2 separate regions of the Homo sapiens genome follow, and region 1 is linked to region 2. Evidence: promoter capture Hi-C in 16 types of primary human blood cells and fetal thymus (Javierre and others, 2016). All regions are on one chromosome and are shown on one strand. Each heading gives the region's core, a stretch centred on a gene start or on the middle of the fragment in contact. The rest is flanking DNA. Distances are from core to core; before and after follow the strand shown. Region 1 has its middle 3.1 kb from the start of SLC25A2. Region 2 holds the start of DIAPH1-AS1 (DIAPH1 antisense RNA 1).

Region 1 (5,164 bases), core at 1,410-3,909, 250 kb before region 2:
AAGCTTTTCGATAAATTCTTGCAATTATGGCCGGGAACTCTAGACGCCGCAGTTCAGCTGGCGGCAAAAGAAATGCTGTCCTAATCAGTCAGCCCTGCTTCTTTTCTTTTCTCTCTTTTTTTTTTTTTTGACTTAGGGTCTCACTCGGCCGCCTAAGCTGGAGTTCAGTGGCGCGATCCTGGCTCACTGCAGCCCCAATCTCCTGGCCTCAGGCGATCCTCTCACCTCAGCCTCCTGAGTAGCTGAGACTAGAGGGACTACAGGCGCAAGCCACCACATCTGGCTAAATTTTGTATTGTACAGACGGGGTTTCGCCATGTTGCCCAGGCTAGTCTCGAACTCCTGAACTCAAGCAATCCACCCACTGGCCTCCCAAAGTGTTGGGGCTTACAAGCATGAACCACCACACCCGGCCTATCCCACGCTTCTTACCATGCAAAAAACAAAAACAAACAACCCGAAAAGAAGATGCCCTCACTTGAATAGACCCTGAATTCAGAGGGTCAATCTACAAGAAAACTGCTTTAAAGTAGATAAGACAGGCCAGGTGTGGTGGCTCATGCCTGTAATCCCAACACTTGGAGAGGCTGCGGAGGGAGGCTCATTTGAGCCTAGGAGTTCAAGGCTAGCTTGGGCAGCAAAATGAGACACCCCTTACCCCCTACAAAAAATAAAGTAGAGAAGACAAACTGTCAGAGGCGCTGGAACCACAGCAACTCCATCTTGACTAGGGACTGAGTAAAATAAGGCCGAGACCTACTGGACTGCATTCCCAGGAAGACAGGCATTCTAAGTCACAGGATGAGATAGGAGGCCGGCACAAGATACGGGTCACAAAGACCTTGCTGATAAAACAGGTTTCAGTAAAGAAGCCAGCCAAATCCCACCAGAATCAAGATGGCATAATAAGTGACCTCTGGTCGTCCTTACTGCTCATTATACGCCAATTATAATGCATTAGCATGCTAAAAGACACGCCCACCAGCGCCGTGTCCACTTACAGATGCCATGGCAACAATAAGAAGTGACCCTATGTGGTCTAAAAAGGGGGAGGAATCCTCAGTTCCGGTAACTTTGGACCCCTTTCCCAGAAACCTCATGAATAATCCACCCCTTGTTTAGCTTACATTCAATAAAAAACTGTAAGTATCCTTAGTCAAGCCGCCCAGGCCACTGCTGTGCCTATGGAGTAGCCATTCTTTTGCTTCTTTACTTCTCTAATAAACTTGCTTTCACTTGACTCTATGAACTTGCCCCAAATTATTTCTTGCATGAGATCCAAGAACAATCTCTTGGGTCTGGATCGGGACCCCTGTCCGGTAACGAAACGATCTGAGGGTTGCTACATGAGAGACAGTGACTGCTTTTGATCAGAAAACCCTCAGCGATCTGCCCACGCTCCTCACTTTCCTGGGGGGCAAGGAGGGGAGTAGGGCACTGTGGGAATCCTTAGCCCTGGAGATGTGCTACTGCTTTCCTGCAGAGCTGGAGAAATGCTATCACATGGCAACATCCCCAAGGATCTGGGGTTGCAGCCCTGGGAACTGGTGGAACGTGGAGTCCTTATCATTTCTGAAGATAGAACACGGCACTATAAAATCAACTTGGAAAATGGATAGTATTTATATACTGCATTGCTAAGAAACTTGATAGAAAAGAGCTGGGTGGCTCAGCACTATGCTTTCTAAGTTTTGAGATTCTCTTTGAGGACCCACACAGCCTCATGCAGAAGTAGAAATTTGTCGTTTGTACACTGTTGGTGGGAATGTAAAATAGTTCAACCCCTATGGAAAGCAGTATGGAGATTTCTCAAAGAACTAAAAATAGAACACCCATTCAACCCAGCAATCCCACTATTAGGTATCTACCCAAAGGAAAAGAAATCATTTTATCAAAAAGACACCTGTGCTGGGGACAGTGACTTACACCTGTAATCCCAGAATTTTGGGAGCCCAAGCCAGGTAGATCGCTTGAGCCCAGGAGCTCCAGACCAGCCTGGACAACATGGCAAAATGCCATCTCTACAAAAAAATACAAAAAGTAGCCATGCATGATGGCATGCCCCTGTAGTGGCAGCTACACAGGAGGCGGAGATGGGAGGATTGACTGAGCTGAGTTGGAGGCTGCAGTGAGTTATGATCCAGCCTGGGTGGCAAAACAAGACCCTGTCTCCAAAAAAAAAACCAGAAAACATCTACACTCATATGTTTATGGAAGCACTATTCACAACAGGAAAGTCACAGAATCAATGTAAGTGTTCATCAATAGTTGATTGGATAAAGAAAATGTGGTATATGTATACCACGGAATACTATGCAGCCATAAAAAAGAATGAAATTATGTCCCTCACAACATGGATGGAGCTGGGGGCTGTTATTCTAGGTGAAATATCTTAGAACCAGAAAATCAAATACTGCATGTTCTCACTTATATAAGTGGGAGCTAAACAATGGGTACACAAAGACATAAAGATGGGAATAACAGACACTGGGGAATCCAAAAGTGGGGAGGGTGGGAGGGATTGAGGGTTGAAAACCTACCTGTTGGGTACTACATTCACTATGTGGGTGACGGGTTCACTAGAAGCCCAAACCTCAGCGTTACACAACATACCCATGTAACACACCTGCACATGTACTCCTTGAATCTAAAATGAAATTCAATTTAAAAAGAAGTAGAAGTTCGGGATACAAATGACATGTCTAGCTTTCAAAGCAAGATGTTTTTTGGACATTAGTGAGGATACCACTGTCAGGACACACTTCTTCCTCCCAGATATTTATAATCCCAGCATTGGAATGAATTCTCTCCAGGCTTACATTCCAAGCCGTCGTCGGCCATGGGTAGTAAAAACAAAATCTGGGGGGAAGAAAGTATGCTGAAAGCATTCTCTTTCATTTAGAAAACTTTCCTTGTCTAATTATCCTTGGCTGTCAATTAAAAGTGAGGTACTTCAGAACAAAGGTCTCTGAGAAAATTTAAAAAAAAATTTTTTAATGAGGTACTAAAAAGCAAATTGTGCATGGATAATTTGTCACCAGGTAGTCTTCACTGTAGTAAATAGTAATCTGGGCTTTTCTTTGGGAAATGCCCAAATGTCAGCAGTTGCAGTTCTTTTCTCTGGTACCACATAGTTTCCTCAGAGAATGCTCTATGAGCTTTGACTGTGTGTGTGCAGGGTGTGGTGGGGGAGAGGTAGGTTATAAACCTAGATACTGATTTAAAGAGAACAAGAGAGGGGAAGAGGGATGACACACCTGGAGTAAATATACAGACTTTCACATAATTTTTTCCTTATTTGACACTGTGCCTACTTTCTCTGAGTTTGGGCCTTCTTTGGTTCAATTTATCCAGAAAATAAAATTTCCATCTTCTGTGGGATGGAAAGAGTTATCTGGCTTCATAGAGTGGGATAGAGATCCTGGACACCCAACAACTCTGAACACAGACTTTAATGAATCTCACATCTCTAACCCTACACCTTCCCACCTTCCCTGGAATCTTCTGCTTGCAAAAATTTTGCATCTTACAAGGCTCTGTCAAGTGGGTTTGTCTCTCTTTGGTATAACTACTTGCAGACATTTAGCATGTAACTTTTTCTGATCTATGAATTCATTTATCATTTCTCTGTTTTGGCCTTCAGATAATGGGTTGACATCTCTCATCCACTGTTGTCTCATTTCCTATTCTCTTTGTCCTTAGAAGTTAACATCTTTTAAAAATCCTTTCTGTTGTTTTATTTAGCAGCCTCTTAGGTAAAGCAGAAAGGATGAGAACAATCTGCAATTTGAAAATAGAAAACTTCATTAGGATTTTTAAATCCTTCATGTCATATTTGAGGAATTTTTTTCTATGTTTTGATTTCACTTTCAGGAAAGGGAACGGGGGAAAAGGGTTTTGTTTTGGTTTGTCTTGCTCTGCTGCCCAGGCCAGAATGCAGTGGCACAATCATGGCTCACTGTAACCTCAACCTCTCAGGCTGAAGCAATCCTTCCACTTTAGCCTCCCATGTAGCTGGGCCAGAGGTGTGCACCATCACACCCAGCTAATTTTTAAATTTTTTGTAGAGACAGAATCTCACTATGTTGCCCAGGCTGGTCTCAAATTCCTGGGCTTAAGTGATCCTCCCATCTCAGCCTCCCAAAGTGCTGGGATTACAGGAATAAGGCACTGTGCTCAGCCCAGAAATTATTTAAATAATAACATATTATGTAGATTTTGCAAGGTCACCTAATATAAATTAGAAATTTGCCTTCGAAGCATCCTGTAGTCTAAAAATAAACACTGAATGGCAAATGAAACAGATATTTGGAAATGGTTTAGCCATTAGATGTAGACCTTAAGACAAAGGGAGCCCATTATATGTGTAATAAATATAAGCAAGTCCAAGGCATTCCAAGTCTAGTGACATGGCATATAGTCTGCATTACTATTTCATTATGGAGAGAGCCTAAAACATATAATTAAGGTTATTTACTGTAAAGGTGTTATCTGAGTGAGATTTAAAAAATATTTTATATATTTTATCTTTCATTGCAAATAAATGGATTAAGTTCTACATTGCTATTTTATCTTCTTTTGCTGTATGAACAGCCATGCTAGGCTATTTTTGCCTCCATAAAAAGCATTTCACTGCATTCCAGCCTGGGTGACAGAGCAAGACAAAACAAAACCTTTTTCCCCCCTTCCCTTTTCTGAGAATGAAATCAAAATATATGGATCCCACTGGGCTACAGTTCATGATGCACACATATTGCCAGTCTTTAAGCACTGTTTCTGTGAGTGGAAAAATGCACTCAAGATGTTTTGCGTCTGCTCACACCACAACAATAAACACAGCAGACTTCTGTGACCAAATGGGTCGGGGTTTCTCCCCACACACCAAGCAAGCAATCAGTTCTACAGCAGACACCAGCTGGGTGTTTTCCAATCCAATTCCAACACTATCTACCTGGAGAAAGCATCAGATTCCACAGGGTAAGTGCTCAGTATCCAAGACTGCACCCCACCCCACTCCCACCTCAGACACTAGTCGTTAAGTCCGGGGCTCCAGAACTTCTAACAGACCAGCTTCATGTTGAGGTTGCTACGGCCCCTCTTTGGGTTTAATTCACTAGAGCTGCTCACAGGACTCAGGGAAACACGTTTACTGGTTTACTATAAA
Region 2 (5,246 bases), core at 1,420-3,919:
TTTACAGAATTGTGTGAAATAAGGGACCAAAATAGGTGGGTATAGATAGCACCTTAGCACAAAGGAAAAGAGGAAAATTTTTTCTGCAAAGGCTGTGACTCTCAACAAACAATAGTAGAAAAGAGAGACCCTTACACCTAGCTATGTGGTTAAAAAGTGGCCGTGCCAGGATCCGTATTTCTAGCTGCTGCAATCCTGACCTATTCAGCAGATTCTAAACCTTTTGCTAGTGGGAACTATAGTTTCCAAACTAGACATGGGGCCAATCTAGTCTCCACAGACCAGACTCTACGAGTGTCCTGCCAGCCTTGCCAAGAAGCCAGACCCTGCTAATTCCCTTCTATCACCTGTGCCCTTCCCTTGGGCAAGGGAATAGACTGCTTGCTGTGGCTGCTGAAAGTCAGAGTCACTGACCCATTTCAGAAGTGGGAGAAGAATATTAAGCAAGAACTTTCATCTGATCATTTGCATCTAAGTCAGTCTCAGGGAGTATCTCCAAAAAGGTCAAGGGAAGGACTAGCGATATTATAATCCTGAAGCCATAAAGGACTTTTCACCACATCCCCCCCGGCCCCAACACAGTATTATATTTTTTCTTTCTGTAAAAGTCCATGAAGTGCTGTTAATTCATTGAGTCTTACCAGGGAGAAAGCTGCTACTTAAGTAAAAAAAGTATTCGGGAAAAAAAAAGCTGATACTCTAGAATCACCATAGGGATGCAGCTATTACACAGTGGCCAAACACAGTTGTCCCAAAGCTTAAAAGCTCTCCTTTAATTCTTAGAACGGGTGAGGCCCACTTCTATGACCATGTTCTCCGTTGACGGCAGTGTGCAAACTTTTCTCAAGACTTTGGGTAACAGATTATCACGTCAGGAGAAAAGTAAGAGTCCAGCCCTTTCTCCCTCTGAAGGTGGCAGGGCATTGCTCCTTCACTTGGTCACCAATAGCCTCTGTGGGAAATCCTAAAGAAGAGGCTCTGCTCTGGCAAGAAGGGAAGTCTGGCTTTGTATCTTCTCAGTCCCAACCTGAGAGATCTTCTTTTTATTTATTTATTTATTTATTTTTTGAAATGGAGTCTCACTCTGTCACCCAGGCTTGAGTGCAGTGGTGCAATCTTGGCTCACCACAACCTCCGCCTCCCGGGTTCAAGCAATTCTCCTGCCTCAGCCTCCCGAGTAGCTGGAATTACAGGCATGCGCCACCAGGCGGCCCGGCTAATTTTTGTATTTTTAGTAGAGACGAGGTTTCGCCATATTGGCCAGGCTGGTCTCAAACTCCCAACCTCACGTGATCCGCCCGCCTCGGCCTCCCAAAGTGCTGGGATTACAGGCGTGAGTCACCGCGCCTGGCAGAGATCTTTTTAAAAGAAATTAAGTCTATAAATAAATTGCAAAATAAAAAATAAAAAAGAGCATAAGAGAGAACCTATAGAGACATCAACCAACTGCAATGTGTAGACTTTATTTGGCTCTGATTCAAATGAACTATTAAAAAAAACAACTATCATAAGATAATTTGGGAAATTTAATACTAACTGGCTATCTGATGATAAAGAATTTTTTAAATGTGATAATGGTAGTAATTATCTTCTTTTAAAAGTCCTAATTTTTTTGACACACATTCTGAACTGCTTAAGGATTAAATAATATGAACAAGGATACATGTAAAAATAATGGGTGGCAAAGACAAAGTTGATACAGGTATATGAAACAAGACTAGCTGTTGATTAAGTTTTTTAAATGGGTGATGGACATAGGGGTGTTCATACTAGTCTCTTTACATATATGTGTGTATGTGTGCGTGCATTTTTTTCACGGTTTCAAAAATAACATTTTTTAAAAAAATTCAGGACCATTTCCCTAGAGTCCTTGGGGCATTTGATTCTTCCCAGACAGCTAAGTGAAAGGGGTTCCTTTTTTTCTTCTTTTTTTGGGGGTATCTTTTCTTATCTGATCCTATAATTAAGAAAACTGCCCTAAACATCTCTGTAGCAAAAACACCTAAACCCAGGATTAGAGTCTAGATGAGGCAGAGGGGATGCCCTGGCCTGCTGCCTCAAAAGCTAGCACTCTGTCACTGTTAGTAGGTGTCCGGCAGCCAAACCATTTTGCTCTGTGCTCCGCTGGCAAGGACTTGCGGCATCGATTGCTCAGGATGCAGGCAGCCTGCAGCAAGGTGTGTCCCTGATGAGCAACTGCTGAGTAAAAGAGTACGTAGCTGCGCCTCAGCCAGTCTCCCTCCCTCTGCAAACCAGACTCCTCCTTTGCCTAACTCCTTTTTTTATTCCTGCGTCACAAATACAAAATGGAGTTAGCTGGGAGCAAAAACAATCTGTCTAAAATGGCTGAATGCGGTGGGGAGTGCCAGACAGTAAAGCGAAGGGAAAGGGCACCCCCTGGCGGCCAAGATAGGGAGTCTGTTTTATGTTCTTCACTACTTTTGCATTTCAAACGAATCAGTCCTACAGAGTCCAAGTTAATTTTGTCACAAATCTTGATGTTGAGCTCTAAAATTCAACTAATAGAAACTGAGGCACAAGAAGGGAAAATAATTTTCAGTCTCTAAAGACAAAGGGCACAAGTCAACAGCCCTGAGTTGCAGTTACTGCTTGGTTATGATCAGTAATAGTTTCTAGGAGACAACAGAACGGAAGGGAGGTCCTTTTATAGTACATGATTCCCCAGCTTCAATAATGGACTAATGACCCCCGGAATCCCACCGCTATAGCCTGCACTTCCCCAGGAATTCCTGTTTAAGGCGTCTCTCAATGAAGACCACAAACAGGAAATGGAGGAGTGGGGAGTTGCCTGACATCCTGGAAACTACGTTCTTAAAGAACTGCAGGTGGGAGTAAGTGGGATAGAAAAATGGGCTTTTCAAAAACTGTTGAGAACACGGACTGAGTCAGTTGTATCCGCACGGCTGGAAGACAGGCAGCTCCACCTAACCTCACTCACTTACTCAGGACCAAAACCCTACTTGCTCTGCCCAAGATAAAGCCTGCAGCATTTGTACCTATTCTACAGGGAACACCCTCCATTATCTTTATCTTACGCTACACCTCCCTTGAGTAAGCCAAGTACCTATGACTAAAAAAGAACATGTAAGAAAGGTGGAAAAAACAGAAATTATCTGGAAAAACTTGTGGGTACAAGTCATTAATGGTTGCCACTACTTAAATGAGGCTGCACAAATACGCCAGTTTATCCAACGTCCCTAAAGTGAGATAATGGCAACACATACAACACAGGTGCACAAAAATCACAAGTTGTTAAAAAAAAAAAAAAAAAGACTCTGGCATCACTATAGTTTTCTCTGAAGAAATAGGGTCTTTGTGGAAGAATCTTAGATCTCTCAGGCATATATGAAAGATCAGAACACTTAATAATCTCTCCAGGAAATAACTTTCTGTGAGGGTAACATAGCTATGGAATTGCCAAGTTCACCTAGCATACAATAAGCCATGTCTATTAAGCACTACATCAACTCTCTAATTCTGGGAAGAGGAGACAGTAAGAGGGTCTTAATGTTAATATAAGTGTTAATATAAGAAGCTGCCCAAATGGAGGACTTCTGATTTATATTCTTCATGGTTGTAATATACATAAGGGATAAATTCAGCACTTTAAAACAATCACTAAGGTATACATTATAGAAGGAAAAAATATCATGCCAACCGAATAGCAGTTATCCCTGCCCAAAGGTAACCGTATCACTGATACCTTGGCCAAAATATACAACTATCTGCAAAATCCCACAGAACTAGACCATTACAGATGTGCAAGCTGTAAGGAGGGACAGGGCAAACTGGCATTAATGAACAAACCTAAAGGACAAGAACAAAGCCACACAGAATCCCAAAGGAAGAACCAGATGCTGAGAGTTATAAAGAAGGGGACAGATATAAGTCTGGAAGGGTAGCAGAAAAGCAGTATTAAAAATCTGGGCACTTCACCAAGCATTTGGTCTTTCAGATAATATAGTCATTGAGTTTCCCACAGATACTTTCCCAGCACACCCAGGATGGTGACTCAATTAGGGAGTGCTAAAAAGAGGTCTGCTTCTAGGATGTGGGTGGGGAAGGACTGGAAGGACAGGCACTATCCCAAACAAGGACTCAGGTATGTCAGCAAAGAGGACAGGTTTATGCAAGGAAACAATAGGCTAGAGGGCAGAAGAAAAGGCATTAAAATAAGGTACTAGAAATAAAACTCTTTTCCTGGATTAAAAAATGTTTTATTATGGGAAAAATTAAACATTCAAAAACACAATTATTAATCCCCATGCATACATCACTCAGTTTCAACAGTTATCCACTCGTGACCAATTCTGTTTCATCTACACCCCACTTCTAAATCCCATAATGATCCGCAATTATTTCTGTACACATCTCTAAAAGATGATGACTTTTTAAAAAATGCCATGAAACCATTATCACACTAATTTCCAGCTGTCTCAACTGTCAAGTGTTTTGTATAGTTCATTTGGATCAAGATCTAAATAAGTTCCATATACTGTACTGGTTGATAAAATTTAAAATTCCCTCTTAATCTATATGTTCCTCTCCATCTCATTTTTTCCCCTGAAATTTATTTGTTGAAGAAATCAGGACACTAATCACTGGTAAAAATCAAGAAGCACTAGCACAGTTACTTTACACTGTCAGTCACTGGAAGCAAGCACCTGAGGTTTCTCTCAACATGCCTGCATTCTTGCCACTCCCTTTCACTAAGTGCTGGATTTGAGCCCAATATATCTAGGCTCAAATTCTGGCTTGGTGTTTACTTGCTATAAAATCTTAACAAGCAAAGGACATATTAATTCTCTTTTATATCTCTCAATTATAAAACAAAGATAATACCAATTAGGCATTATGGAAATAATGTTTTGATAATTGGAAATAATAGTTGATAATCCCCTGTCACAAATCTGACATTAAATAGGTATTCATAATTTAAGACTGAATGAGAAGGCAAAGTACCTTCATCTTTTTTTTAGGTGCTCCAGATCAGTTTTAATCTCTGCTGTATCTCACCCACGCTAACCTAAATAAATACTGAGTAAACTGCAGAATTCTAAACCATTCTCCATAACAAAGGATTCTAGAAATATTCTGTTTTATTCAGGGTTGGGAAGGGAAGTAACAGGGTAAGAGCAGAACAAAGAGAACAGATGGAATAAACTCCCAGCCCCCAGCCTGAGCCTGCAGAGACAGCTGCTGGTTTTCGTCATACTGCTGTTTTT

Evidence for each region. The method cuts DNA at HindIII sites, captures the fragments that hold promoters and counts their contacts. A CHiCAGO score of 5 or more calls a contact.
Region 1: a contact is called between a fragment that was not itself captured here and the fragment with the promoter of DIAPH1-AS1 in region 2, in 1 of 17 cell types (fetal thymus). The highest score is 5.1, in fetal thymus.

Annotation. Positions count from the first base shown.
Region 1 is chr5:141,304,536-141,309,699 of GRCh38, forward strand. No RefSeq gene overlaps it. Among named protein-coding and RNA genes, the nearest start is that of SLC25A2, 3.1 kb to the left of the region's middle. The HindIII fragment of the contact is 5,316 bases long and covers 2-5,164 here.
Region 2 is chr5:141,555,642-141,560,887 of GRCh38, forward strand. DIAPH1-AS1 (DIAPH1 antisense RNA 1) reads left to right here and starts at 2,670. Exons shown (of 3, transcript NR_038333.1): 1 at 2,670-2,846. All of the region lies in intron 18 of DIAPH1 (diaphanous related formin 1), which reads right to left. RefSeq lists enhancers at 1,648-2,500, 2,261-2,555. The HindIII fragment of the contact is 6,603 bases long and covers 756-5,246 here.